7 separate regions of the Homo sapiens genome follow, and all the other regions are linked to region 1. The links are contacts of gene promoters, found by promoter capture Hi-C in blood cells and fetal thymus (Javierre and others, 2016). All regions are on one chromosome and are shown on one strand. Each heading gives the region's core, a stretch centred on a gene start or on the middle of the fragment in contact. The rest is flanking DNA. Distances are from core to core; before and after follow the strand shown. Region 1 holds the start of SYT15 (synaptotagmin 15). Region 2 has its middle 5.2 kb from the start of MAPK8. Region 3 holds the start of FRMPD2 (FERM and PDZ domain containing 2). Region 4 overlaps FRMPD2 (FERM and PDZ domain containing 2). Region 5 overlaps FRMPD2 (FERM and PDZ domain containing 2). Region 6 overlaps FRMPD2 (FERM and PDZ domain containing 2). Region 7 overlaps FRMPD2 (FERM and PDZ domain containing 2).

Region 1 (3,033 bases), core at 290-2,789:
AGAAGGAACACAGCACCTGACAGTGTCAGCCAGTCTGGGTTTGGATTCCTGTTCTGCCACTTACTAATTGTGTTCTCTGGACCTGTTGCTTATGTGCACTGAGCCTCAGATTCCTCACCTGGAACATGGGTTTCATAACACCTGCCTAATAGCTGATGTGAGGTTTCTGGGGTTTCTTTGTGATAGCTCCCAGCACCGAAGCAGCATAGAAGAGGCACCCCCATAAACAGAACTTTCCTTTTCGACCCCACCCTGAGGGAAATTCCAGGGGCGCACTTGGCCCCACATCCTGCCTCACCTGCTCAGTTGGGTCCTAGCATGCGGCTGGCAGGGCCTGTCCCGCTGCCCACTGGAGGCAGCTGTGGTGGCCATGGCTGGTGTCCCAGGCAGCTCCTCATAGGTGAGGGTGGCACAGAACCTTCTCCACAGACAGCAGCTTGCCCCGATCAACAGCAGCAGCAGCAGCCCCCCGATGGTGCCCCCAATCACCAGGGCCAGCTGCTCTGGGGGCAGAGACCACCAGTACTATGATGCCTGCCTGGGAAAGCCACTCTCCCTCACAGCCCTGGCCTGCTGGGGCAGAACTAGGGCAGCAACCCTGCCTCTGGGTTTGATCTCAGGAGTGATAGGAGCAGGCCTGCTGGGGATGGGTTCCGGGAGGGATGCTGCTGGCTAGGTTCCGCCAGCTCTCAGAGGAGAAGCCGTTTACCCCAGGGTCTGAGAGCCCTGGGCAGAACCTTCTAGTTTTCCTTGGAAAACAGCTGGCCCTGCCCTTGGGATTCTGGCTTAAAGAAGCCATTTCCTTGCGCTTCTGAGTAGAAATCAAACCTGCCCTCACCAGAACCTCCATATCCCCTGGGCTCCTGTTGAGGCCAGGAGGGGAGCTGGGGTGTGGACGCAGTCAGTTAAGGAAAGCCCTGAAAGGTACCTTCCCCCTGGTCTGCAATCAAACCTCTACCCTCTGGGGCCCTGGAACCTGCTGCAAGGCTGGACTCTTCTCTAACACCCGCTCCCTCCCCTAGCCCTCTATCAAGGTGAGCACGCGCTTAGGGGAGTTGGTGCGACGCGGTGGACGAGGTGGGGAGGAAAAGGGGGCAAGACCCCGTTGCTGCTGGCCCTCACACGTCCGCATTTGCGGGACCTAGGAGGCTTCGCCCCGGGGGTGCTCAGACGCTGGGTTCCAACCGCTGGCCACCTGGGGCGGGCCAAAAAGGTGCCTCCCTTAGGGTGACGTGCGGCCGCGGGGCATTCAGGTCTCAGGGATCTGCACTGGGTGGGGTGGTGAGAAGGCCGGACCCCCCACACCTCCTAAGCCGCAACTGACCGCGAAGAGCGGGCCTCAGCGTCTACTCCATCCCAGTGCCCCTCCAAGAGCGCGCCGAGGCCGGGCAGGGCAGGCGCTGCACCCCAGCGGGGGCGGCGGGGCGGAGGCAAGTGCTGGAAGGGTCGCAGAGGGGCCGGGGCTGGGCTGGGGAGGCGAGGCTCGCTTACCCGCCATGGGGCTGCTCCCGCAGGCTGGTCTCGCCGGTCTGGGCGGCTGGGGCTGGGCTGCCAGGCCGTCTCTTAAAGCGCCGCGGGGCGCCGTCGGGCGAGCACAGGGGCGGTCCGTGGTGCTGCTGGTGCCCAGCTGCGGCGCGGGGAGCCGCGCAGTGCACGGCAGGGGCAGGGACCCAGCGCCCCGAGGCCGCAGTCCCGCCCCAGCCCGTCCCTGGCCCAGGCCCAGGCCCGGCGGTGGAGGGGCGCAGAGCCGACCGTGAGCTCCCGGAAACCGCAGGGCTCCAGCCAGGGCGGGTCCCGGGCGCCAGGGGCGCCAGGGGCTCCCTGCGGCTTGGGGCAGGGTGGGGTGAGAGTACCACCCCCATCCCGGAGAGCAGGGCTACAGCCTTCACCGCCGCGTCTGACACAGGGCTCCGCACCCGACCCCTCACACCTGGTGGCCAGGACTGAGCCCCCGCCCTCCCAGATCCTCCTCAAGCCGAGGCCCCTCCAGCCGCAGCTCCGACCCCGGCTCGGGGGAGCCTTCCCGGATCCCGGGGTGGAGTCTCCGCGCGGGTCCCCGGCCCCAGCGCTGCCTGCCTGATGGCCTTGGGCAGGGATGCGGCGCTCGCGCACCCGTTCGCTCTCAGCGGACAAACCGGTCGAGAGCGCAATTCTGGAGCGGGTTCCAGAAGCTCCTGGGTTCCAATTCAGGCTCCTCACTCGCCAGCCCTGCGATTTGGGACAACTTAACGTTCGTAAGCTGGGTTCAGTCTTCTCAATTGGGTTAATGTCCGTGAGGGGCTCTCGTAAGGGCGGCTGGCCTGCCGGTAACTTAAGAAGCATGTAAAGAGCACTTAGAGCGGAGGAGCGGCGCGGCCCAGCCCCTGTTACGGTGGTTATCGGATGGAGGCCAGCGTCGCCTGGGTCCCCTCTGTACACCCAGCGCCTATTATTATGGTGATTATTAGAACGCAGGGCCCGTGCCCACTAGTCCAGGCTGGCGAACGCGCCTTGCGGGAAAGGCGGGAGTAAGGTCGCTGCGTGTCCTCTCTGGTCACACCTCGGCGCGCCCTGGTCGCGCCCCTATGGTTCCCCCGCCGAGGCCTCGAGGCGTCTGAGTGGGGAGCGAAAGGAATGTGTGTATCTGTGGTGCAGGGGAGTGTGTGTGTGTGGGGGGGGGGAGGGGGTGGTTGTGGGGGAGTGCGTGTTTTGGGGGGATGGACCTTCTCGTTTTACAGCCTTGAAGGTTATGTCCAGAGTCATAGCCTGGGTCCCACACCCCCGCGTCACCTGTGCCTGTCCTAGGGGGCAGTCAGTGTGCGTGAGGCTCCACCCTGCCTGGGCTTTGGCTCACCTAAGGCGAGGAGGGTGGTGAACTGGGGTGCCCCACTGGGCCGGGTCTGGGAGCCCTCAGCGCCAGGGTGCAGAGGCCGCAGCCACTCCCCTTCTAGGGTCTGGGCGGTGGGGGCATGAGAAGGCGGAGACCCAGGCCACTTCACCCAGTAACTGTCCTCAGCTGTGCGCTTAACTGGCGAGATCTCCGCTCTACTTGGA
Region 2 (3,033 bases), core at 326-2,825, 1.7 Mb before region 1:
TCGTATTGTAAATCCATCCTCCAGCTGCAAGAACTGTGGCTCCTCAGGGGTAGGAAAGGGCCAAAAATGGCCCGAGCTCCTCAGTCGCAACTTGAACAAAATGAAGTGGAGACAGAATGGGCAGAACTCTGATTTGAAGTTACAAGTGGTACCCTGTTTTTGCTTACAGGTACATGCAAGAGAGAACCAACTAAGCTAGTCAAGTTTATAGATTGAGTACACATGCATATTTCCATGGGAAAAAAAAAAGGTCAGCATTTATTCCTCTAAGACGATGGTTTTCAAATTGTGGTTCCCCAGACCAGCATCAGCTGAGAACTTGTCGAAAATGCAAATTCTCATACTCACCTTAGACCGGCTGAGTGAGAAACCTTGAGGAAGAAGCCCAGCAATCTGTGTTTTAATGAGCCCCCCCAAGGCATTTCTGATGCCCATTTGAGTTTGAGAATCCCAGCAGCAGGACACTGACTCACAAGTCACCCTGCTCATTTTAATCACCTGGGTGGGGAGGGGCTTTAAAACTGCCCACACCCGGCTGAACGTGGTGGCTCACAGCTGTAATCCTAGCACTTCGGGAGGCCGAGGCAGGTGGATCACAAGGTCAGGAGTTCAAGACCAGCCTGACAAACATGGTGAAGCCCCATCGCTATTAAAAATACAAAAATTAGCTGGTCGTGGTGGCGCAAGCCTGTAATCTCAGCTACTCAAGAGGCTGAGGCAGGAGAATCACTTGAACCTGGGAGGTGGAGGTTGCAGTGAGCCAAGATCACACCACTGCACTCCAGCCTGGGTGACAGAGCAAGACTCCGTCTCAAGGAAAACAAAACAAAACAAAACACTACCCACACCCAGGCTCCATGTCTGGTGCTCCTTCTCCAGTGGTCTGGGGTGGAGCCCAGGCTTCTGTAGCTATTTTCACATCCCCTCAGGTAATTTTAATTTGTAGCCAAAAATGAAAGCCAGTGCCCTAAGAAATTTGGCGTATTTTCTGTTTTTTTAAAACCTCAGAGCAACTGGACAGAACATCTTGCTCTCCATTAGCTTTTGTGCTTTCATTCTTTATTCTTACTTTCATTATTGGTTCTTTTTTTCCAATGTTTTGCCCACCTCCCACATCTTACACATATGCTAAATTGTCCTCTCTCCATCCACACCCACTGCCTTAGCTTGGGCTGCCATCACAAAATATCATAAACTAGGTGGCTTAAGTGACAGAAATTTATTTTCTCAAAATTCTAAAGGCTGGAAGTCTGAGATAGGAGTTTGCCAGTATGGGCAGGTTCTGGTGAAGTCACCTTTCTCAGCTTGCAGACAGTCACCTTCTTGCTGTGTCCTCACATGGCACAGTGAGAGGGAGAGGGAGGGAGAGAGAGAGAGAGAGAGAGAGAGAGAGAGAGAGAGAGAGAGAGAGAGAGCGAGCTCTCTGGTGTCTCTTCTTATGAGGATGGTAATTCCACCATGTGGGCCCCACCCTCCTGACCTTGTCCAACCCTAATCACCTCCCAAAGGCCCCACCTCCTAATGCCATTACAATGGGAGCTGGGGCTTCAACATATGAAATTAGAGGAGACAGAGACACAATTCAGTCCATAGTACCCAGAAACTGAAGATATTCAGTGTTCATCCCCTGGTGAAAAAAATATAAAGGAAATTGAATAGGAGAGAAAGAATATATTATTGAAGTCATACAACCTGTAAATAAAATATTTGTTGTTTTAAATAAATAAATGTTTTAGAAGAGAGCTTTTTACCAGATCTCTTAGCATCAACACCCTACCCCATCTACAATTATTAGCTAAGAATTTCTTTGAGCCCAGTGAAATTTTGCCTTTCATAGCTCCTGCACTGTAGAACTTGTGCCAAGGTCCCATTGTGGAGAGAAAACAACACTTCATTACCGGCCCCCTCCACCCCATCTCCACCTTTACCTCCTGGCCTTCACCCTCACCCTTCAGATGTAAAACTGGAGCTCATGCTAGACTGGCAGGCATTCCACCAATGACCCTTTGGCAGAGAGACCCCTGTGAATTCCCAACCTTGGCCAACAGTCCTACTCATTCTTGGCTAGATTTGAAAAGACTCTTTGTGGCATCATTGGGGAATGAGAAAGAGATTCTGGCATCACTGGAGAGTTAAGAGTCTCTGCAGGTGGCAGGGTTTTGAGCCCCTCAGAGGGCAAGTGATGTTTCCCTGCCGCAGCCTTGCCAGCGACCTCTGCTGGGGCATTCTCATGTTCCTGACTCAGAGGTGATCCCTGAGGCCCTCTGATGCTCCTGAGAAGGTGCTGTTGCTTCTGGAAAGTGGAGATTAGAAGACAATTTGAAGGAATTTTCAATGGCTTCTTAAACCTGTTCCTGAAGCAGATTCCCAGTCAATGACAGCTTCACTTCTGAGGGTAGGTTGCATTGCTTCTCTTGCCAAAAACCTACAGGATTCACTCTCAGCTGAGGGTTGGCATAGCTGGTCAGCCTGGCCAGCTTGAGGCTTGTCGTGGTCTGGGAAGCTAGCAGAGGTGAGTAGGGTTTTTGGGCTTGGGAAAAGGCAGAGGGAGGTATCATAGCCCTTCAAGGTGTGGGTCTCTTAAAGGAGGGACAGCTACACAGGAAAGTAAGTGAAGCCGGGCATGGTGGCTTACACCTGTAATCCCAGAACTTTGGGAGGCCAAGGTGGGAAAATCATTTGAGCCCAGGAGTTTGAGACCAGCCTGGGCAACAAAGCACAAAGTGAGGCTCCAACTCTACAAAAAAAAAAAAAAAAATTAGCCAGGCCTGGTGGTGAACACTGTAGTCCCAGCTACTCATGAGGCTGAGGTGAGAGGATTGCTTGAGCCCAGGAGGTTGAAATTGCAGGGAGCCGTGATCATGCCACTGCACTCCAGCCTGGGTGGCAGAGCAAGACCTGTCTTAAATGAATAAATAAATAAGCATTCCTCCCCAAATGCTCCAGCCATGCTTGAGGAATAAGCAATCCAGGGTAGATAGGGCAGAAATCTATTTCTGGGAGTGCTAAGTCATGAAGACTGGATAAGGTCGC
Region 3 (3,033 bases), core at 277-2,776, 1.7 Mb before region 1:
CTATTAAGTTGCTTGTGATTCCTTCCAGAACCACAAGAATATGTCTACATAATATTCTAATATACTACAGTGTATAAAGAATATGTATACATAAATATACGTAAATATACCTGGTCTTTATGTACCTATTTGTAATAAAAGGAAACATACTAGGCTATTCCATACCTTTTGTCACTTAAAGAATTTTCTAGGCAATTGTTATATGCCAGCACACACAGATCTACTTCCTTCCTTTACACAGCTGCATAGCTGGTTTTCTACTGTGTGTGAACTACAATAATCACTGTTGATGGGCACTTCAGTGGCTTTCAGTTTTCTGCTACTACCAAAATACACTGCAAAGAGCATCCTTTCTCAGATGCTTTGGTGAACTTTTGCAAGAATGTCCATGGGGTTACTTCTTAGCAGCTGGGTTTACAAAGGATATGTACATTTACAAATTTGATGAATATTACCAAATTCCCTGCAGAGAAGTTGCACTTATCTGTAATCTCACTATTGGCATATGAGAGTACTCATTCTCCATGCCCTCACCAGCACTGAGTTTCATCAGATTTTTTTTTCGAGACAGAGTCTCGCTCTGTCACCCAGGCTGGAGTGCAGTGGCCCGATCTTGGCTCACTGCAAGCTCCGCCTCCCAGGTTCACGCCATTCTTCTGCCTCAGCCTCCGGAGTAGCTGGGACTACAGGCACCCGCCTCCAGGCCCAGCTAATTTTTTGTATTTTTAGTAGAGACGGGGTTTTGCCATGTTAGCCAGGATGGTCTCGATCTCCTGACCTCGTGATCTGCCCGCCTTGGCCTCCCAAAGTGCTGGGATTACAGGCATGAGCCACTGTGCCCGGCCTCAAATTTTAGTATTTTATTCTGTAGTCAGGCAAAAACTCATGTTTTCTTTTTAAATAAATACGTCTCAGTTTTGACACTGCTATTGATTTAAAGGGCTTGAGAGATCTGTTCTTTTGCCCCTTCTACTACAGAGCTATGATCTACTTCTTGCTGTTCCCCATCTCTGCTGGTTCCTTTCTGAATCCAAGCACCAGAAAGAGTAAGAATTCCTTTCCCCCTTTCTCTAACCACATTTTTCTTGCTTTCTCACAGACAGATCCAGGTTATCATTTCCTCCTGCTGCTTTCACATGGTTCCCTGTCCTGTTGGTTGCAGGTCCAATGTCTGACACTATGAAAGGGCATGGAGGACTCTTGAGTTGATGACACTAAGCCTCTGCTCTGGGGCTGCCCCCAGTTCCTTGCAGAGCTCTTTCTTTTGATTGGGCCAGGAGATAAAGAGACATCAGCGTAAAAGCCCTGCTGAGCAGCAATCCCATTGCCTTCAGTGGCACCTAATCCACTTGAGCTCTTCCTGGCTCTCTCACGGGTCACTGGCTTTGAGGACGCAGGCTGCTGGGGTGGCAGTGCCTGCTAACAGGCCAGAGACTGCGCAGGACCCAGGGAATGAGAGTGGTGGCAGGAAAGGGAAGGGGCCTTGTTGACTCACTCGCTGGGCAGCAAGTGCTTAGTGACAAGCAGTAAACAAAGACAGCGGCAACAGTGCTGGTGGCAGGGAGCTCCGCGGACAGACTTGCAAGAGACCCCTGCTCCTTGTTGGAAAGTTGTCCCATGATGAAGGCCTAGACCTGGTCACGGAGACTTTTGGATGCAGCCTTTAACGAAGGACGCAGGTATTCCTTGGCATCATTCAGTTTTCTCCTATAAATCTGGTCAGGGAAAGGGCAAACTTCTTACTGGGTCTAGGTATCCGGAATAAGAAGAACACAGCTGGGCAAGGACCTGTGTCAGTGCCCTTTGTGGTATTATTTGGAGTATTATTTGTTCCAGGCCATTGGCTAAGCCTGATAGACATTGTATTTGTTTTTTAGCAATAAAGAATGGGCTCAGAAGAGAAAACATGGACTTTAGAATCAGACCACCCCTTGTTTGAATCACTGCTTTGCTATTCAGCATCTGTGCAAATTCAAATGACTCTTTTAACTTTCCTAAGACTCGTTTTTCTTACCTGTAAAATGGGGATAATAATGCCCCATGCGTTACGATGTTGCTGAGGATTCATGGGGTGACACGCGTAAGGCACTTAGAACATACTTGGAGCATTTGAGTAGCCCAGTAAATCATGGCTGTCACTATCTTTCAGAAGCAAGTGTTTTGGTTATTGCTTAAAGAGTATCAGTGGTTTAAAGTAAGAAGACTCAGGGTATGCCTAGCTGACTTCCAGAAAACAATGGAAAAGAAATGATTCACCTGGCTTTATTTGTATGCTTAAAGGAAAGAAAAAACTCAGTTGAGGTTTTCAACAGTGTAAACAACTTTTTTTTTTTTTTAAAGCAACAATTGAGTTCAGAGATGAGTCGTGTCTATTTCTCCTGGCTAAATCCTGTGATTTGCTATAGGCTGTAGCTGAAACCAATTAAGTAGTTCATTAATTCAACGAGAACTTACTTGGTATCTCCTGGGGCCACATGCCAAATGCTGGGGATGTCTCCCCCAGCCCAGAGGATCTTCCAGGTTGTAGGACAGTGGGGGTCGGGGGGCAGAATGCTGGACCTGCATGAAAACTGGCGGTGATAGCAAGTGCCGAAATGGAGGTGGCACGGGCTCCTGGGAGAGGTGTTGCTTGAGCATGGCTTTAATGCTAAGCGAACACTAGCAGGAGTTGGGAGCAGGGGGATTGGAAAAGGCATCCCAAGCAGAGAAAAGCACATGCAAAGGCCCAGTGGCATGAATAAGTAAAGCATGCTCTGGGAACAGCAGGCAGTTTGGCCTAACTTTAGTAAAGTGGGAACAGGGGAATCTGATAAGAAAGGAGGCTGCAGAGGTGAACAGGGGAGAGCAAGGAAGGCCTTCTATGGCCCAGAGTTCACTCAGAAGGTCCCAGATAGGCACTGGTAGTTTTAATGAAGGATGTGTCGTGTCTGCATTTAATATTAAGAAGATTAATCTAGTAGCAATATGGGTGTGGGATTGGAGAGGATGAAACCTGGAATGATGACAGATGGCCTAACCTAAGAAAACAACAGT
Region 4 (3,033 bases), core at 260-2,759, 1.7 Mb before region 1:
TCCCACACAAACACAGTTCTGGCTGCTGCTGCTTTTTTAAATCAACCTCTGAGAGCACAGAACAAGGTTGCTGCTGCTTGATCTGTGATTACTCTGAGGTATTAGAATGAGTAGAAGAATAGCACCTATCCTTGGAGCTGCACTGGGAGGGCAGGCCTGACTCTTGGACCCATGCCATGTGGCAGAGTCAAAAGAAAGGCTTTGCTTCTGCCTTGGTGTTGCAGCATTTCCAGGCATGCAAAGCTGGGAGGATTTAGGAAGAGAGTGGCTGCAGTGCTATGGGTGTCTAACAGCACATGGGCTGTCTCTGGGCATAACCAGAGATGAGAGGCAGGGTGTGGTCACCCAGGACACCCCTACACTCTGTCCACCAGATGTTGCACTAGTCTGTGCCCCATCAGAAGGCAGACCTGGCTGGGCACGGTGGCTCACACCTGTAATCCCAGCACTTTGGGAGGCCAAGGTGGGCAGATTACCTGAGGTCAGGGGTTTGGGACCAGCCTGGCCAACATGGTGAAACTCCATCTCTATTAAAAATACAAAAAAAAAAATTTGCCAGGTATGGTTGCGCTCGCCTGTAATCTCAGCTACTCGGGAGGCGGAGACAGGAGAATTTCCTGAACCCAGGAGGCAGAGGTTGTAGTGAGCCAAGATTGTGCCACTGCCCTCCAGCCTGGGCAACAGAGCAAGACTCATCTCAAAAAAAAAAAAAAAAAAAAGGCAGACCTACTCTGTGTTCTAAACAGGGGAGGTTAATAGAAAGAATTACTAAACAGTGTTTGAAGAGCAACTGTAAGGCATAAGAAAACGCTGGTGTGGTGGCTTACTCATGTAATCCCAGCACTTTGGGAGACCGAGGCGGGTGGATCACCTGAGGTCAAGAGTTCAATACCAGCCTGGCCAACATGGTGAAACCCTGTTTCTACTAAAAATACACACACAAAATATTAGCCGGGCGTGGTGGCGTGCACTTATAATCCCAGCTACTTGGGAGGCTGAGGCAGGAGAATCACTTGAACCCGGGAGGCAGAGATTGCACTGAGCTGAGATCGCGCTATTGCACTCCAGCCTGGGTGACAAGAGCGCGAAACTCTGTCTCAAAAAAAGAAAAAGAAAAAGAAAATGCTAGTGGGTCTCCTAAGGCTGAGGGCAGGTACCCAGTGAGGGATAAACTTTGAAGGGAAGCCCCCTTCCCTGTTTGGGGTTCAGATCTGTGGGAGGAGCTGTGCTTGCAGCCCATGATGATGGTAGAATTTGCTGGTGTGCCCTGCCAGAGGTGGTCTGCAGTCATGGCCCAGGCAATAGCCACCGGTGGCCAGGTAGGGAGCACGCACTGCAGGTGGGGGTTGGGGCGACCCTTTAGGGTGTAGGTGGGCTCGGGCGAGTCACCTCTCTGGAGGTTGGTGTGGGCAGGAGGGCCGCTAGAGTCCTGTGTAGATTTGAGAAGGTGGTCACATGTCAAGTTCCGGCCTTGAGGTGGCCAAGTGACCTCACATCCTGGGCATGTGTTCTGTACAGAGCCCAACCTCCAGGTGGCCTCACACTTGCACTAACTCCAGAAACTGTGGGAGAGATAAGGCCTCCTATAGTGTCTCTTCAGAGCCCTCTAATGAGAAAGCTGCACACTGTGCTCTCAGTAATAAGGCCTCCTATAGTGTCTCTTCAGAGCCCTCTAATGAGAAAGCTGCACACTGTGCTCTCAGTACAGGAGAGACCTAAGGTAGCGGTATCCAAGGATGACTATGGGGCTCCTAGGCATTAAGGTCCAGAACAAATGCTGAGTACCCACACTCAGGTGTCAACTCACAGGTCACACGTGCTTGGGGGCTTCAGTGCATACAGCAGAGGCTCCTGGAGTGAAACATTACACATGTTCTGTGAGGGCGATGGGTCCCAGCATGGGCCTATGGAGGAGGCTGTGCACCTGTGCCTTCAGCGTCATCTTCTCCCTCTTCCCCACCCTGGAGGTTCTGATGAACAGCTACGGAGCTCCCAGAAGACCAGCTGCCTTGGATCCTGGTCTGTCTCTAGAGAACTCAGGCTTGTGCTAAATTCCAGGTGTGCCTGACCCTCTCTTTACCTTTTACCTTGAGACTCTTGGGCCACAGATGAATTTAGGTGCAGGTGCTAACTTCCTGGCCATGGCCACAGTCACCTTTTATTATACATGTTCCCATGCATCAGGGTTGAATTTATTCTGTTCCATGTCTCCTCTGGGTCTTGCTCACATTCAGTCCCAGAGATGGGTACTGCCAGGCACCTGCTGGGCACAGTCCCATGCTGGCACCCCAGATGGAAGCTCTGTCTCTACAGCCCCATCACTGGCTTGGTTTCAGATTCCTCGGACTATGTGGTTTGCCCCTGGTCAGCCCTGCTTTCTGCAGCTGGAAGCCTTTCTTTCCAAGGCCGTGTTTCTCATATAGAGGCTGCTCCTTTCAAGGCCCCTGAACTGCTACAGGGACAGAGTGAGGATGAGCAGCCTGATGCATCTCAGGTAAGCTGTGCAGCTACTCTGCAACTTCTGAGTCCTGTGCCCTGGGAAAGGCCTGTCCCAGCGGCAGCCTCCCCAGCTCCCAGCTCAGCCTTGCAGAGCTTGGTTCTCAACACCAAGCCAGAGTGGGTTTCAAGAGTTTTATTCCCAGGATTTCTTGTCAACAACTTACTAGCTCATGGACAAGGGCAAGTCCACTTCTCTGAGCCCCAATTTCTACATTGGTAAAATGGGGTTAATGTGGCTTAATTGATCAGGTTATTATCAATATTCAAAAAGAAGTGTTGAAAAGCTGTGGTTAAGTGGTCTGGCACATTGTTACCATTGGCAGTATGTAGCAAGACACCTCAAAATGACCCAACACGTCCTCAACTAGGAATTTATTCTAAGGCACAAGTAAAGATAAATTTAGCTGCAGCAATGCTGATTGTTGTATTGCTGACGTTAGTGATAAATTGAAAACAAGCTAAATAGTGAGTGGGAGAGGACATGAGACAAAACACCATTAAAATGAGGCTGTAGAAGCTTATTTAATGTATTGA
Region 5 (3,033 bases), core at 251-2,750, 1.7 Mb before region 1:
GTCTGTCTGGAGTTCATTGTTCTGTTTCATAGGTGTTGGTTGTCATTTCGAAGCACTAGACCAGCGTTGGGCATTTTGGTGAACTCTCTATGTAGCCTGCACATCAGGCAGGAGACTTGTTCCTAGAATTTTACATTGAGTTGTTGTTCAGCTTCAGTTTATAGGGCTTTAGGAACAGAGAAGTTCTTGTTCTTTGTTCTTCAGATACTGAAGGAAGCAAGAAGAATTCAGGGTCCAATTCAGTCTACAGGTAGATTAGAAACACACAAAAGCAATGAACAGGGCTACAGTCAGATAACAGGTGTAATACAATTTTCACCTTCCTTTAGAAGCATAATTTCTTTTCTACAGTTACCCCCATTTTTACTAAAGATAATCACAATAAGACAAATTTGTTTACTAAGTAAGTTTAGCCTCATCAAGTTTGGCCTTGATGCATAAGTGCATCAAGAATAGTGGTTGACCACGTAGGCTCCTTTGAAGCTTGTTCTGCTAGAACTTTTGATAAGAATCTCAGCCTGACTTTTAAAAGTCTCTCAAGGCTAGGAGGCCAAATCAAGACAAACCTCAGTTTGGCTGAAGTAACTTTATGTGCATTTTCAAATATGACATCCAAGTCAAAGCCTTAGTAATATAACCAATTTTAAGTATTGTATCCTGTTATAAAGAGAGCATATTTTATTGAACTTATATAAATAACTATATTATCATAAAAATAAGAATGCTTATGGATAGTTTTAGAATTCTGGTTGGATCAGGAAAGGAGAAAAAGCAAATATTTTAATTTTGTTCACAAGAGTATACTTTATTATATTGTTGTAAACTATAGATAACATACAAGGAAAAAGTTTCCTTAAATCTAGAAAACAAAACATTTAAAGAACCAGTGAAATTTCAAGTAAAAATTATAAAAACCCATTATTCTTTTTCATCCGTTCGTTCAGCCTCATGTAATTAATTCTTGTTCTGCTTGATCTTTGTTAGCAGTTTCACAAACTCTGTTTCTTCTTTAGTGTCCTGGACATTTTTCCTTAGTCCAATGGTTTGATCTTGAAGTTATCAGAAACCTGTAACTTGTCAGAATTCTTTCCATCCTTTCTGTGAACCTCCTTGAAGAAAAAGCAATTTTTGGACTGTAGCTGATTGCAAATGCGTTTAGAAAAGTACCAACACCATAACATTCCATGGATGATAAGGACTTAGAATGGCCATGGTTAAAAATCTGAAGAGAGTTTATTATAACCAGCAATTTACAGATAAATTTCATTGTTTCTATGGCATATATCATTTTAACATAATAACCAAATATTATACTAAGACATATCGGAATTCTAGCAATTTTGTACAATTTTAGGAACATTTATATCAAAACTATATTTATAAATATAACTTAAAGATTTGGCACCACTTATTATTGGATAATGTTTCCCATGCATTTTAACATATTGAATAAACCCAATTAGTTTAACACCTCTTTTACAAGGTGAGGGACATATCCTTTGTTGCTTCCAAGGGCCCAGCTGGAAAGACCCAAAGTAAATTCAAGGTCAAAAAGACTCAATTTAGAATTTGATTTTGGGAAGCTGTCAAAACTGTCAAAAGGTTTAAAACCCTTGATCAAAGTAGAATCACTGGTCACTGTAAAATAATTGTCATTCATTTAACCAGAGTGATAATTAAAATTCTTCAAAAGGCAAATACATAATGGTCAAAACTTAGCTCTTTGAATATTGAGAAGATCACTTTTTTAAGTAATAAAAGAGCTAATAAAATACAGCACAGAGCACAAGAAACTATTCTGATAAAACACAAAATTTTTGTTTTCTAGGCCAATTACTAAAAAGTTAAGGAAAAACATATTAATATTAACAGTAGAGGCTAATACTGCAATATAACTGTATTTTATTAACAGAGAAGACAAAATAATAGTTTTGCACAAGTATGCTATTGATATTAAGGCTCAATTTTAGAAAAACATAAATAAATACTTTTCTTCTAATTTTAATTATCTTGATCACACAAAAATTTCTTTCATAATATTCATCTTCCATAAACCTTTTGCAATTTTCTCAAACCATTTATAATGTTCTTATTCAGTTTTATTGATATCACTTTTTTCTTTATTTATTTGTTTTGAAGCAATCCTCAACTAGCCTCCAACTAGAGAAAATTACTTTTTTAAACGACAACAAATAAAAACACATTCTCATATCTTCCTTTTAACTTTTCTCACCCAAACATATCTTACATTTTTGTACACTTTGTGTACAGAATTACATTTAGTAATTGGAATTTTAAAACTCTTGGTAACTTTAATTTCTAGTGAAAACCAGAAAACTAGAAAGTAAGCAATCATAAACTGCCTTTTACAAATTTGTGAAAACATTATTTTATAACACCTAGAAATATATGCTTCCTCATAGCACATTTTTTCAGTGTAGAATAGAGCATTTTAATTAACAGACCCAAATATCTTTTGTTCCTCTACAATGAGGAGACAAAAGTATATAAGCTTAAACTTATGTTCAACAACTAATATTTCAGCATAATATCTTATTTGGAAGTGGTCTATTAAATGAATATTCATCATTTCATTTAACTTACTATAACTGTAATGTTTTAAGTAACCAAAAAGATTTTATAAACCATTTTAAGTAGATATATCTTATAAAACATAATCATTGTTGAAAAGCTTACTTATACTCTATTTCATTTATATTTACATTTATTAATTCACTTGGTTTTAACAATTATGTTTGAATTGTTTATAAAAACTCCATAAGACATGAAACAAATGTAGTCATTATCTTACGTTATTTTTATTGTTAGTAAATCAGGCAAGTATTAAAAAATACCACAGAAGCAAAGAACCTAAAAGTTAAAACATATGGCTTTTTTTAACTCTCTTTTTTCATTGTCACATTTGTCTCACATCAAGCAATTTATTTTTACTGTATGTTTTATTCTTAGGTTACATTTACAATTTTACCATCTTAAACATACATACGCTTTTGCTTGATAAATCCAGATAGA
Region 6 (3,033 bases), core at 220-2,719, 1.6 Mb before region 1:
AAAAGTGATTTATTCTTGCAAGGCACAGTGGCTCACCCCTGTAATCCCAGCACTTTCAGAGGCTGAGGAGGATCACTTAACTCCAGGAGTTCGAGAGCAGCCTGGGCAACAGAGCGATACCCCTGTCTCTAAAAAATACAAAAATTAGCTGGGTATGGTGGTGCCTCACTGTGGTCCCAACTACTTGGGAGGCTGAGGTGCGAGGATTGCTTGAACCCAGCACTTCAAGGTATCAGTGAACTATGATTGTGTCACTGCACTCCAGCCTGGGTGACAGAGCGAAACCCTGTCTCAAAAAAAGAGTGACTTATTCATATAAAAAATGCTTAATATCTGAATAAACTTAATATAAAATTGTCAGGATTGCATGAAAGCCTATCAGTGTGTACTGACAAAGTGTATGGATTTCAAGCAAATATTCGACTTTGAAAAAGTGTGGATGAAATGATCAGTTGAGTACTAAAGAAGAATTATTACGACTGGCGGAGCAGCATCTATGAATGCTTGAGACAACACATTATTTAAAGAAATATTAGTTATAGTACAGTTCAATTGGATTCAGAATCCATTCCTATTAGCACAAGGAGGCTTAGCACTATACTTGTCAGTAAAAGTAAAGAGTATACAGAGAATGAGAAACTTATCTAAAATTAGGTTAATGGTAAAAAGGGGTTTCTCAAAGAAAAAGCAATGAATATTTATCTGCCTTTTGTTGATATCTGACATGCGTGAATGGAGTTTCTTAGAAATGGTGACTATCAGGAATTAAAAGAGATAAGCCTTAAAGAGGATCAGGGGTTTCCGGAAGCCCTTTCAAGCATAAGCCCTGTTTCTATAAAGTTACCTTTATAGGAGCAAGCTGAAGGTTCTTATTGAAATAGATAGAATATCTAGAATGAAGATTTTATTTGGAAGTTTTATATGAATTAATATTTAATATCACCTATATATTTTATTGTTCTTATCAGAATAATATATTGCAAAAATTTGTACTTTTTTTTCATAAGGCTCTATACAGGTAGCCTCATATAGGTCATCTTCACCAGTTTAGCCCAGTGAGCTGGACAAATATTATCACTTTGTATGTGGGCCTTGAAGGTATAATGTGGGGAAGCGTTTCTTTGTGGTGTGACCTCAATTCCTGTGGCATTTTGAGGACTCTTGCTCTTTTTTTTTTTATCTGTAGAATAAAAATACTGATAGAATCTCTCTTATTCTGTAGTTGTGAAGATAAAATAAATTCATACTCATAAAGCACTTAGAATAGAACCTGCTACATTATAGCCAGAAATATTATAACACACAGGTGTTTTTATCTTTTTCATAACCCAACTAGTTGAGATTTTGTCTACAACTTCTTGGAGTTTGTACAATAAAAACAATGGGAATACTTAGTGGCTTGTCATAATGCACACTGAGGGTTAGGTTCCGTCCTTGCTGAGGTCAATATACCTGACCCACTTCATATTCTTCTCACCCAGCACACTCCTTGAAAAATAGTTATTGTTTGATAAACAATTTGATTGATGAATGAAGGAAAAACTAAAAAGAGGGATTTTCTTTAAGCTAAGGAAAATATCAGGCCATAGTCAGACAGCATCTGCCATGCACCCGTGGATGCCTGCTACAGGGTGTGGAACCAAGGGACCGAGCATTTTCTTGCAGTTGTGCGTCAGTGGAGGGTTGTGGATGATCAGTGTATTAAAGTCTGTGTTTGCTTCCTTCAGCAAAAAAAGTTCACCATCACAAGCAGTGTCACTGGGAAGAAGCACACATTTGTCACAGATTCAGCCAAGACCAGTAAATACTTACTGGACCTCTGCTCAGCCCAGCATGGGTTTAATGCACAGATGGGCTCTGGGCAGCCTTCCCATGTTTTATTTGGTGAGTAGAAGCTGTATTCTCCATATACACTTTGACAAGTTTGTTATTTCATAAAATAATTTGTATAAATAGATACAATTGATCTGGGGACCTCTAATAGAGTTGTAAATCTCTCTAATAATGACAGAAATACAATAAAAATGAAATACAGTTTTATTTTCTCATGTTGGCAAGCACTAAAATAAATAACACTGGGAGGATAAATTGATATGATCTTTTCAGAGTGCAATTGGAAATATACATCAAAAGCCTTAAAAAGTGCACGTCCTCTTGGCCCCATAATTTTACTTGTAGATAGACATTTATCCTAAGATAATCAATAGAGACATACACAAAAGTTGCTGCCCATGGATGTCTACTAGGGTGTCATTTATGACAGTGACCATTTGAAAGCAATCTAAGTATCCAAACATAGAAGACCAGATAAATAAACCAAGAGCATCTATATAATTCAGACAGTAAAATCAGTTTTTGGACAATGATGATATGTGAAACTGTACATGATAGGGTGCTAAGTGAGGAAAAGGAAGTTCTAAGACTGTATCTAGCTAGCACCGTCCAATGACACTTTCTTCAATGATGGAAATACCTGCATTGTTCAGTGTGGGAGTCACTAGCAACACAGACCTATCATGAACAAAAGTTCTTGGAAAAGGAATTCGAAGGAAAAAGACTTTATTCCTGTCACAGTCTGCAAACCCAGAAGGCACAACCTTGGTATAAAACAAAGGTGTGTTCTGGAGAACAAAGAGAGGGTTTGGCTTTTATAGATAAAACTCCCACCTAGGTTCCCAATCAAGTTCATTTATTCAAATGAAAGATTCAAACTTGCTTAGTTCAGATTGGTTGATGCGGTGCAGTTCTGACTAGTTGATACAGCTGAGCCCTGATTCGAGGAGGCAGGTGAGCTCTGATTGGTTGGTTCAGGTGAGCTCTGCAAGTCCCAATGTTAAACAGAAGGGTGGTTCTTCAAGGAACTCAGAGTACCTGTGTGACCTCTAGTCAGCAAATGGTTGCTTGGCTCTGTTTTATTTATTTATTTATTTATTTATTTATTTATTTATTTATTTATTTATATTTTTTAGCTTTTAGTTTTTATTTACTTATGAAACATAAAGCAATTTTGGGCAAAAGGTAACAAATAAACCT
Region 7 (3,033 bases), core at 387-2,886, 1.6 Mb before region 1:
AGGCCCAGTCTCTACTGCTGGGCAAAGTGGGGAGGTGGGTACTGTTTTCCCTTTCAACTTGCCTACTCCCCTTTCCTATCCCTCCTCTCCCAGTCTGCCTTTTCTGGTAATCACTTCTGTTTTTTTTCTCCCTTTAATTGTTCCTAAAGAGCAATGGGACTTTTGTTTCCAAGTTTTTCTTTTTGGGGTGCATCTAAGTACAATGCAGAAAAAGATTTTTTCCCCTAATACCATGTAACAACATTCCTCTAGTCAGCTATGGGGAAGAAGAGTCAATTTATCTCACCTCTTACTAGTGACCACTTTCTAAGACCCGAAAAACTGTAGAAGAAACAAGGTACGGAGACAAGGTACTTGATTAAAAATCATTTCTTTCCTATGTCTCATTATCTACTGGAGCAAAATCCAGTGCATATTGGTGGTTTGTATTCCTAGCTTTAGCTGTGCTTACTAATGGGGAACAATCCACCTTTCTCCAAGTATCATGGTAAAGTAGAAAAGATCCTCTATTTGAGGATCAGAAGACCTGACTGTAACTATCAGCTAATGCCACTTGGTAGCTGTGTGATATGAGGGAAATAACCTAACCTCTCTGAACAGCAAAATCACTAAGTATCATCTTATCATGGACTATCATCTTGGATTACAGGGTTTGTCATTAATGAGGGAGAGTATTCAGGCCAAGCTGACCCTGGCATTTTTATATCTTCTATTATACCTGGAGGACCAGCAGAAAAAGCAAAAACGATCAAACCAGGTACATCTTTTTAAATTACTAGAGATGCTGTTTTAAGAAACCACTCTTTTTTATTTCCTTGAAGGATTATTGAGATGTTTTATTTTTCTAGGAGGGCAGATACTAGCCCTGAATCACATCAGTCTGGAGGGCTTCACATTCAACATGGCTGTTAGGATGATCCAGAATTCCCCTGACAACATAGAATTAATTATTTCTCAGTCAAAAGGTATGTTTTAACCCACTCTTGGGAGCTTAAGAGGCTCCCCTGTTTTCAGGAGTACATGATTACTGTGAGGTACTAGACCTTGAAGTCCACGTAGGTCTTCTATATTGCTTTCCTCATGGTGTTGGCTTGCAAAGAAGCAGTGTAGTGGCACAAATTAATAAGCTTTGCAATTTCAGGGGCAGAATGGGCGTTACCATGCTTGTCTTGCTGAAAGGGAGTAACCTACTCTAATTTTGTTAGACACGGCTGGATACAACCAGTCTTTTTTTTTCTGTCAACTCTCCTTGCATGGCAGGGAGGACCTTTTTATTGCCACCCAAAGTCCTTGTTGATAGGGTCGGCTCCAGGATTTCTATATTTTGTATAGAATCCTATACAAAATTTCTATATTTTGTATAGGTATAGCAATCAGCTGGGGAGGAGACAAGCACTGTTCTTTGTTAATCTTTTGTTTTGGGTTTAGGGCTACATGTGTAGGTTTGTTATTACAGGCAAACTCGTGTCACAGGGGTTGCTATACAGACCATTTCATCACCTAGGTGCTCAGCATAGTGCCCAATAGTTATTTTTCCTGATCCTCTCTCTCCTCCCATCCTCCTCCCTCAAGTAGGCTCTGGTGTGTGTTGTTCCCCTCTTTGTGATCATGGGTTCTCATTATTTAGCTCCCACTTGTAAATGAGAACATGCGGTATTTGATTTTCCTTTTTTTTTTTTGAGATGGAGTCTCACTCTTTCACCCAGGATGGAGTGCAATGGCACGATCTTGGCTTTCTGCAGGCTCCACCTCCTGGGTTCAAGCAATTCTCCTGCCTCAGCCTCCTGAGTAGCTGGGATTACAGGCACGCGCTGCCACACCCGGCTAATTTTTGTATTTTTTAGTAGAGACGGGGTTTCAATATGTTGGCCAGGCTGGTCTGGAACTCCTGAACTCAAGTGATCTGCCCGCCTCAGCCTCCCAAAGTGCTGGGATTACAGGCATGAGCCACTGCACCTGGCCTTTTCTTAAAGCTGAATTTTCGTGGCAAGCTCGCTCTTCTTACTTGATGTGCATGTTCCTGATCAACCTAAAGAGTAAAGTACTTTTTGATGATGCTTTTCTTCATCCTTTAGATAAGAATGAGAGAGCAACAACTGCCTATATTAAAGGAAAATACTATTGTTTTTATCGGGACCAAGCTTGAGGAGCCTGGAGGAAGTAATGGGAGTAGGCTAACATCCCTTCTCCCTAGTTTCCTGAGACCAATGCTGCTTTTTGGTTGGGTGATCCTGTAAACTAACAGCAGACCGCCTGCAAATTCAGGCTCATGATTGCTTCTTCACACTTGAGGGGTGTTGTACAGTTTTCCCTTGTATACAGGAGAACTTCCTGTCACACCAGCCAGCATTTTCTAGGTACTAAATGCAGGCACTGCATTTGCCTTGCCTTCTGAACACTTCTGCATGCATGCTCTCTCACTCTTGTACCTGTACACAGTGCCATGCAGCTCCCCTGTCCAGAAGCTATGGGTGGTGGAAGGTGGCCATGCTGGGGTCTCAGCCCCACACCCTTCATCCTGGGGTTGAAGCCTTCTCAGGGACTGGCCTCAGTACATCTCCAATGCCAGTCTCTGGCTTGCTGTCTGTTGGATTTCCCAGCACCACTGCTCTCCTTTCTGCAGTGGTTCAGCAATCCCTGTGTTTTCTTCCACATCCTCCACTGACAGGAGCAGTCAAACCATCCCATGTGTTGTCAGGAAACACAATGCAGGTGACCAAATCACAATTCAGCATAGTCCAAGGATGGCCTGCTGTGATGGAGGTTGTCAAAAAGCAGTACTCGAGGTCTGCTATTCTCAAACCACAACCTCACATTAGAATTCCAGACAATGAGTTTCCCACAATGGCTGGGAATAAAATGTCCTTTCACTGTGGCACCCCAGCCACCTTTTGGCAATGCTGCCTTCATCATGGTGGGGTTTCCTCATAGCTGGGCCACTGCCAGAGGAAGATGTTTCCTTGGTGATGCTGGCTGGGTCTCCGTGGCAGAGACTTGACTACCATGACTTTCTTCTATCTCTTTAGGCTGCTG

Evidence for each region. The method cuts DNA at HindIII sites, captures the fragments that hold promoters and counts their contacts. A CHiCAGO score of 5 or more calls a contact.
Region 2: a contact is called between a fragment that was not itself captured here and the fragment with the promoter of SYT15 in region 1, in 5 of 17 cell types (M1 macrophages, M0 macrophages, erythroblasts and 2 more). The highest score is 16.4, in M1 macrophages.
Region 3: a contact is called between the fragment with the promoter of FRMPD2 here and the fragment with the promoter of SYT15 in region 1, in 4 of 17 cell types (non-activated CD4 T cells, M0 macrophages, monocytes and 1 more). The highest score is 7.5, in non-activated CD4 T cells.
Region 4: a fragment that was not itself captured here is called in contact with the fragment with the promoter of SYT15 in region 1 in 6 of 17 cell types (erythroblasts, M0 macrophages, fetal thymus and 3 more); the score reaches 8.3 in erythroblasts.
Region 5: a contact is called between a fragment that was not itself captured here and the fragment with the promoter of SYT15 in region 1, in 4 of 17 cell types (erythroblasts, M1 macrophages, M0 macrophages and 1 more). The highest score is 14.3, in erythroblasts.
Region 6: a contact is called between a fragment that was not itself captured here and the fragment with the promoter of SYT15 in region 1, in 5 of 17 cell types (M1 macrophages, M0 macrophages, erythroblasts and 2 more). The highest score is 20.8, in M1 macrophages.
Region 7: a fragment that was not itself captured here is called in contact with the fragment with the promoter of SYT15 in region 1 in 6 of 17 cell types (M1 macrophages, erythroblasts, non-activated CD4 T cells and 3 more); the score reaches 12.3 in M1 macrophages.

Annotation. Positions count from the first base shown.
Region 1 is chr10:46,577,634-46,580,666 of GRCh38, reverse strand. It overlaps SYT15 (synaptotagmin 15), which reads right to left and starts at 1,539. Exons shown (of 8, transcript NM_031912.5): 1 at 1,492-1,539; 2 at 299-503. The coding sequence starts at 1,498. RefSeq lists enhancers at 1-796, 797-1,674. The HindIII fragment of the contact is 10,756 bases long and covers 1-3,033 here.
Region 2 is chr10:48,299,931-48,302,963 of GRCh38, reverse strand. No RefSeq gene overlaps it. Among named protein-coding and RNA genes, the nearest start is that of MAPK8, 5.2 kb to the left of the region's middle. The HindIII fragment of the contact is 7,001 bases long and covers 1-3,033 here.
Region 3 is chr10:48,273,189-48,276,221 of GRCh38, reverse strand. It overlaps FRMPD2 (FERM and PDZ domain containing 2), which reads left to right and starts at 1,526. Exons shown (of 29, transcript NM_001018071.4): 1 at 1,526-1,679. The coding sequence starts at 1,655. The HindIII fragment of the contact is 27,288 bases long and covers 1-3,033 here.
Region 4 is chr10:48,248,482-48,251,514 of GRCh38, reverse strand. It overlaps FRMPD2 (FERM and PDZ domain containing 2), which reads left to right. Exons shown (of 29, transcript NM_001018071.4): 3 at 2,337-2,494. Among named protein-coding and RNA genes, the nearest start is that of FRMPD2, 25 kb to the left of the region's middle. The HindIII fragment of the contact is 3,018 bases long and covers 1-3,018 here.
Region 5 is chr10:48,227,948-48,230,980 of GRCh38, reverse strand. The region is part of intron 10 of FRMPD2 (FERM and PDZ domain containing 2); the gene reads left to right. Among named protein-coding and RNA genes, the nearest start is that of FRMPD2, 45 kb to the left of the region's middle. The HindIII fragment of the contact is 2,029 bases long and covers 486-2,514 here.
Region 6 is chr10:48,200,079-48,203,111 of GRCh38, reverse strand. FRMPD2 (FERM and PDZ domain containing 2) reads left to right here. Exons shown (of 29, transcript NM_001018071.4): 15 at 1,728-1,884. Among named protein-coding and RNA genes, the nearest start is that of FRMPD2, 73 kb to the left of the region's middle. The HindIII fragment of the contact is 8,259 bases long and covers 1-3,033 here.
Region 7 is chr10:48,182,498-48,185,530 of GRCh38, reverse strand. It overlaps FRMPD2 (FERM and PDZ domain containing 2), which reads left to right. Exons shown (of 29, transcript NM_001018071.4): 19 at 650-757; 20 at 849-965. Among named protein-coding and RNA genes, the nearest start is that of FRMPD2, 91 kb to the left of the region's middle. The HindIII fragment of the contact is 1,014 bases long and covers 1,130-2,143 here.